Linked DNA regions of Homo sapiens: region 2 is linked to region 1. The links are contacts of gene promoters, found by promoter capture Hi-C in human tissues and cell types (Jung and others, 2019). All regions are on one chromosome and are shown on one strand. The core of a region is centred on a gene start or on the middle of the fragment in contact, and the rest is flanking DNA. Distances in the headings are between cores, read along the strand shown.

The links. The method cuts DNA at HindIII sites, captures the fragments that hold promoters and counts their contacts. A contact is called where the count stands out against the background at its distance.
Region 2: a contact is called between a fragment that was not itself captured here and the fragment with the promoter of DKK4 in region 1, in 1 of the 25 tissues and cell types used here (heart left ventricle).

The regions. Positions count from the first base shown.
Region 1 is chr8:42,375,193-42,378,818 of GRCh38, reverse strand. DKK4 (dickkopf Wnt signaling pathway inhibitor 4) reads left to right here and starts at 1,590. Exons shown (of 4, transcript NM_014420.3): 1 at 1,590-1,884; 2 at 2,989-3,139. The coding sequence starts at 1,774. The HindIII fragment of the contact is 8,640 bases long and covers 1-3,626 here.
Region 2 is chr8:42,860,971-42,864,596 of GRCh38, reverse strand. RNF170 (ring finger protein 170) reads left to right here. Exons shown (of 7, transcript NM_030954.4): 6 at 2,742-2,852. Among named protein-coding and RNA genes, the nearest start is that of THAP1, 19 kb to the right of the region's middle. The HindIII fragment of the contact is 3,920 bases long and covers 1-3,614 here.

The DNA.
Region 1 (3,626 bases), core at 341-2,840:
GTTTCAAATTTTATTCCTAACATGTAATCCGAGGCTCTGTTCCATGCCAAGTGCTCTAAGTGCTCAGTGGCTGTTTGTGCCGTGTTACAGGAGTTCCCGTCAGTTCTTTCGCCTGTGTATATTGCCAGGGGCCTTTGGTAACCTGAAATTCCCTTACAGTGAGGCAGCAGGAAGCAGAGAAACCCGGCAGAGACAGAACCCTGGGGGCTCTTTCCTTTATCCTTGGTCATAATTGTACAACTTGAAAATAAATTCTGTAACACCCCTAGTCACCAGGGTTATCATGCTATCAAAGGGTGTTGTTTGATGTCAGTTTAAGGGATTAAAACAAGTAACTTCCATACGAGAGGTAGACAAGCAATACCAACCCAAGGACAAGGGCCAAGTAGTAGGAAGGCTCGAATCACCTGCATCACCCTCGGAATGGCACTGCATTACTCAAAATTGAGAATGTTCCCATGCACAGAATGCTGAGATTCATGTCAATGAATTGATGTTAGGTTGTTCTGCAGGAAAATGTAGTAAATAATAAGATTATCATTTATGGCATAGAAAAAATGCATTTTAGATGACTCTATGCTAAGAGCAATGAAACAATGAAGAGAAAAAATGATTTTTTGATCCAGATCTAGATTGTTCTACCCTTAAAGTATTTAAGACAGTGATAAGCACATGTCTAAATTACCTGACTAATAGTCCAAATGGAAAAAAATCAGACAGGAAAGGGATGAAGCAGAAGTTTTAAAAAATTCGTATTAGGAAAATTGGAAATACATGAAATTTCATCTGAAATCAGCCAGAGACTTGGATCCTTGTTCTGCTTAAGTGAGTTTTACATAATGCAACACAAATTAAATATGTTGCTGATAAAATGGACCCAAAGCTTCGTACTGAATTGTGTAAAATGCGCTATCATTGTTCCCACCATTGAAAAATGGGATTTTCATAAATTACATTATTTTCCTAATAACCCTAACTTCAAACAGTTCAATTTTCATTTAAAGGAAAGTAATTTCCCAAATGGCATTTAGTCAGAACAGGTGCTGTTACGTTCACAACTTTTAAGCGGTTGGGATTTTGACATCTGGATGCCAGAGCTAATCAGGGGGCGTTTTCTCTTTTTCTATCTGTCCTCACTATCTGAAGCCCAGTTTACAGCTTCTCAGTGTATTTTGTACCTCATTAGTTTTTGGCATCCTCTATAGCATATTGGCCAGTATGATTCATCCTTTCTTTGAGCACAATTAGCTGTGAAAACAGATCTTAGGGCAGACTCCCTCCCTACCCCCAAAGGATTACTGAAGGTAGGAAATGCAGGTGATTATCAGAGTTTGCCTTTGATACAGACATCCTGCTCTGCCGTGGCCCTTTGAACTAACTTTGATATGCAATAATTAAGAGGGATTGAACCCCTGGAGGAGAAGCCGCATGGCCCTGCCTCTTCTCTCCTTCTATTGAGTCCTTGTTTTGAACTATTGATCAAACAGATTTGAAGGGATTTGTTGAAGCCTGTGTGGGGCAGGAGGAAGGAACGGAGCGGGGAGGAGGCACATCTGGTTATAAATAGTTTCAGGAGGAACCTGCTGGTCAGACTTTGCTCAGCCGATTTCACGCACCTTACTCAGACTAAGGTTTACTTCTTTCAGAAAAAGCAGTGACAAACAGACGACGTGCTGAGCTGCCAGCTTAGTGGAAGCTCTGCTCTGGGTGGAGAGCAGCCTCGCTTTGGTGACGCACAGTGCTGGGACCCTCCAGGAGCCCCGGGATTGAAGGATGGTGGCGGCCGTCCTGCTGGGGCTGAGCTGGCTCTGCTCTCCCCTGGGAGCTCTGGTCCTGGACTTCAACAACATCAGGAGCTCTGCTGACCTGCATGGGGCCCGGAAGGTAAGGCTGCTAGGGAGGGGGGCGAGGTACGGGACTGCTGACAGCTGGGGTGTTTTGTTTAGGCTTTAGTAAGTCATTCTGATTCATGTATGAAATGTCTTACCTAGCAGGTAAATTGAATTGGTTTCGGATTTGGGAGGGCATCCTGGTAGGATCAGTGGCCTTAGTGTGAATGTATGAAATAAACACAGTGGCTTTTCACATCATTCGGCCATACGTTTGTCTATAAATCACGAAATAAACGAACACTTTGGAAGCTCTACTATGTGCCAGCTCTTTTACATGTAATACGTCATGTACTCTTCCTCACAATTTGAGATAGGTGAAACATTCCCTAATTCCAGATGAGGAAATAAGACTCAGAGATGTTGAAGAGCTTACCCAAGCTCACACAGCCAGCAAGCAAACATGGGAATGAGAATTTAAACAGAGGGCCATGATGCATTGCCTTGTCACCATCTAACTTCACAGAGAGAGTTGTTTTAGGAATCGCTTTATGTATGTGTATATGTTATTATATATCGTATAGATTATTACATATATCATATATGCTACACCTACGTTGTATGTCTATGTAGAAGCATCAACTGTGTATGAGAACAATTGATCTTCGGTATCTCTTTCTCTATGTCAATGAGGCATCATTGAAAATCAAAGGACAGTTCACTTAGGGAAGGGTCTCTAAGCTAAATGTGATTCACTAGAGTAAAAAATCAAATAGGAATGCCACAAACATCAATAGTATGTTTAATGAAACTGTAGCCAGCTTCTAGAGTTAAGATATATTGAAAATCTCATACTCACCTGTTAAGACACACATAGGAAAACATTTTTTCCCATTTTCACAAAGAGCACAGGAAAACTAAATTCTGAGTTAAGTCAATTTTTCAAACTCAAATAGCCTTTGCAGCGCCTAGGTCTCCCCGGGTGACATGAGCTTCCCTTTGTGGGAGAAAACCATTTCCACTGGAGAGTAAGATGCTGCCCAGGGTTTGTCACAGCGCCACTGTCCTTTGGCTCCCTCCGCCTCCTGCCTTCAATAATAAGTCATCTTCCATCGTGTTGGGGGTTTCCTAGCCTTGTGATAACAGATTCCCTCCACAGGGCTCACAGTGCCTGTCTGACACGGACTGCAATACCAGAAAGTTCTGCCTCCAGCCCCGCGATGAGAAGCCGTTCTGTGCTACATGTCGTGGGTTGCGGAGGAGGTGCCAGCGAGATGCCATGTGCTGCCCTGGGACACTCTGTGTGAACGGTGAGCGACATAACGCCAACAGTGGTTTTTAAACCGAAGGTAGTGTCTAAGCCCCATAGACTAGAATATTCCAGGGTAGGCACTCTCTAATGGTGCTTCCTAGATTCATGCTTGAAGTAAATGTATGCAGCTGCCTTTTCTTTTCCTTTTTTTTTTTTTTCTGAGGCGGAGTTTCGCCCTTGTTGTCCACAGCTCACTGCAGCCTCGGCCTCCGGGTTCAGGTGGTTCTCCTGCCTCAGCCTCTGGAGTAACTAGGACTACAGGCATGTACCACCATGCCCGGCTAATTTTTGTTATTTTTAGTAGAGATAGGGTTTCACCATGTTGGTCAGGCTAGTCTCGAACTTCTGACCTCAGGTGATCCACCTACCTCGGCCTCCCAAAGTGCTGGGATTACAAGCGTAAGCCACCGGACCCGGCTTGCCTTTTCTTAATGAAACAAAATAATTTATTTCCTGGCAACAGCTCTTGCCAATGACTTGGAGAT
Region 2 (3,626 bases), core at 405-2,904, 490 kb before region 1:
GACTGAAATGTCACTGCAGATGAGACATGCCAAATTCTCTCCATTTCTTTGATAAACTGGAGAAATGAAATACTGAACAATTCTGAGAAACCAATATTCTCAGTTTTTAAGTATGACAAAATAGGACATTGTGTCAGTTGTACACTGTTTTTCATAATTTCCTTTATATTTATTTTTCATTTAAAATAAAAATACAGGGTGGGCGCAGTAGCTCATGCCTGTAATCCCAGCACTTTGGGAGGCCAAGGCAGGAGGATCACTTGAAGCTGGGAGTTCGATACCAGCTTGGGCAACAAAATGAGATTCCATCTCTACAAAAAAATTTAAAAAATGAAATTAGCCAGGTGTGGTGGTGTATACCTGTAGTCCCAGCTACTTGGGAGGCTGAGGTGGGGGGATTGCTTGAGCTCAGGAGGTTGAGGCTGCAATGAGCTATGATCATGGGACTGCACTCCAGCTTGGGCAATAGAACGAGATTACATCACTAAAAAAAAAAGTATTCCTCCACTTACCCATGGGTGGAATGTTCACACACACTAAAAAAAAAAAAAGTATTCCTCCACTTACCCGTGGGTGGAATGTTCACACACACACACACACACACACACACACACACTCTCTCTCTCTCTCTCCTTCAGCCTTTATTGTAGCTGTCTGTTTCCCCTCAACTGCCCTCTTATTTTGGTGCAAAGAGGGAGGTCCAAGTCATTTTCTTACCATTCTTGCTTATACATTCCCAAATTCTGCCTCTTTCATATTTTACTTGTGGCCACATGGTCAGGAGGAAAACTGATGTTTCTATATGCCTCTCTGGCTGATTTGATGCGTGACACAAGGCAGTCAACATTGAAGCTTATGGCCGGGCGTGATGGCTCACGCCTGTAATCCTAGCACTTTGGGAGGCTGAGGCGGGCAGATCACAAGGTCAAGAGATCAAGACCATCTTGGCCAACATGGTGAAACCCAGTCTGTACTAAATATACAAAAATTAGCTGCGCATGGTGGCGCACACCTGTAGTCCCAGCTACTTGGGAGGCTGAGGCAGAAAAATCACTTGAACCTGGGAGGTGGAGGTTGCAGTGAGCCGAGGTGGTGTCACTGCATTCCAGCCTGGAGACAGAGCGAGACTGTCTCAAAAAAAAATTTTTTTTTTAAATTGAAGCTTATTTGCCCGTACTACTTCTTGGCATCTTTTGCTCTCGGTCAGCAACATCCAAACTAGGGAGTAGGTCTTACATTAAAAAAATAGTTCCAGGCCCTCCCTCTTCTTGGTTCTGCCCATGGCTTTTCATAGGACATGTGTACAGTAGCCAGTGGTATCCTGTGTACCATCCATAAATTGACTAGAGGCTCAGAAGGTCGAGATAAAGTTGTCTTAATATAATAGGTCTTGGTTCCCTAAGATAAGAGTAATTCATCCTGGAGGCAAGACAGATGGCAAATGCTTGTTCTACCTCCTGTTTTCAGTAGCCCCTTCAGTAAATGGTCATGGAAATAGCAATACACAGGCTGCCGCCTCTGACTGGAACACATTCACCACTTCTCCCCTTGAATGCGTGCACACCAGCCACAGTCCTACCACCATTTCCAGGTTTGGCTCAGTATCAGGCTTTCTGACCACCCCAGGCAGAAGAGATCCTCGCTCTCACAGCAGCATTCTTGCACCTGCCCCAGGACCATGTAAGGCTGTCGGCCAGGTCTTCCTCCCCTTTCCTTGTGGGTGTTGTAGTCACCCTGGAGCAGGCTTTTGACTTCATTTTTCTGGCATACCTAGCACTAAGCAGAGTGCCTGGCCCGCCATAGGTGTTCCATTAATGTGTATTGAAAGAATGCATTTTTATTAACAAATTTGTGAAGGAAGTGATGGCTGCACCTGCTGTTCTCACCACCTTCTGTGCTTAGTCACGCCTTCTTTTAGCTGTTTGGAAAGCATCTAAACAGTGGGAAGCCTTGGTTTTACAGCTGAACTGAGGAAGGACAAAACAACAACTAAATGATTTAAAACTAAATCGGCCACCACTCCTTCCCGTTTTTATGTCATCATACAATCATTAGTGACCATTTTCTATAAGGGTGCTACGTCCTAAAGTGTATTTATTTTTCAAGGTACTGTCACCGTCAGATTACCCCAGTATGGTCCTGGGACATTTGTACATCCTTGTTACCACAACCATGAAGGAAGCAGGGTTAAATGTATTATGTTATATGACAATATCAAAAATTTCTTTTTTTTATTATAGTAGGAATTGGTGTTTGAGAGCTGGTCCCTGCAATAACATAATCTTTATATTATGGTTGGTAGCATTCAAAGATCTTTCAAATACCAGTAAGAATAACCAATCATTATTTTAATACTGAAAAAGAAAACCATAATTTTTCTGTCTTAAAGTGACAGTTATATATTTTATGTCACTTTCCTCCTGAATGTTTCCTCATCCTTCTTTTATCTTCAAATATCTGTTAGCCCAAATAGAGAACTAAGGAATTTACCCCTGGTGTGGACAGGAAAATATTAGGCCAGTAGTTGGATATGGTGTCTATTTTATAGGAGTTCAAATTCTATGTTGCATTGGATTTTATTGCAAAGCAGTTACTTACTCCCCTCCCCCAGGTTGCCTTTATTTAAAAATGAGTGAAATATAAATATAGAAGCCTTTATCATTCTATTGAATAATAACACAAAATGAAAAAAACATAATGATGCAGAAAGTTGAAATAATTTTTTTTTCTGTAATATACAGGTAACCTTACTCCTAACAGTATTTGGTGAAGATGATCAGTCTCAGGATGTTCTGAGATTGCATCAGGATATTAATGATTATAACCGGAGATTCTCAGGGCAACCCAGATCTGTAAGTAATGCTAAAGCATGTTCAAAGTTAGAGGAAGACACATTTCTTCTCTTTTGTAAAGTGAGGTTTACCAACAAGTATTCTTTGACTATGAGAAATCTTGGCCAGGCACAGTAGCTAACGCCTATAATCCTAGCACTTTGGGAGGCCAAGGCAGGTGGATCACTTGAGCCCAGGAGTTTGAGACCAGCCTTGGAAACATGATGAAACCCCATCTCTAGAAAAAACACCAAAAAATTGGACAAGAGTGTTGGCACATGCCTGTAGTCCCTGCTTCTTGGGAGGCTGAAATGGGAGGATCACCTGAGCCCAGGAGGTTGAGGCTATAGTGAGCCATGATCGCACTATTGCACTCCCACCTGGGTGGCAGTGAGACCCTTCCTCAAAAAACAAGAAAAGAAAAAGAAAAAAAAAAATCTCATTATATGTGTTGGGTCAAGTTTTTACCTTCATTGCTGCCAATCACTACATTACACCTTTCCCAAGGACTACAATTTTCTTTCTTAAAAAACAAACAGCATTATAAAAGTTTTTATGAAAGAGAAACTAGCAGAAAAGCAATAGAAAAAATTAGAGGGAAATAGAAAATTATTTACTTCTTTGTGATACTAAAACACCATTTGTCTTTTGAGAAAAGTTACAACTGAAAACTTTAAGTTTCACAGTTGTGGTTTATTCTATTTGCCCTAGCCCTGTTTGAAATGTTCCCTTAAAAAAATTCCAGGTTGGCTGGGGGCGGTGGCTCACGCCTGTAATCCCAGCACTTTGGGAGGC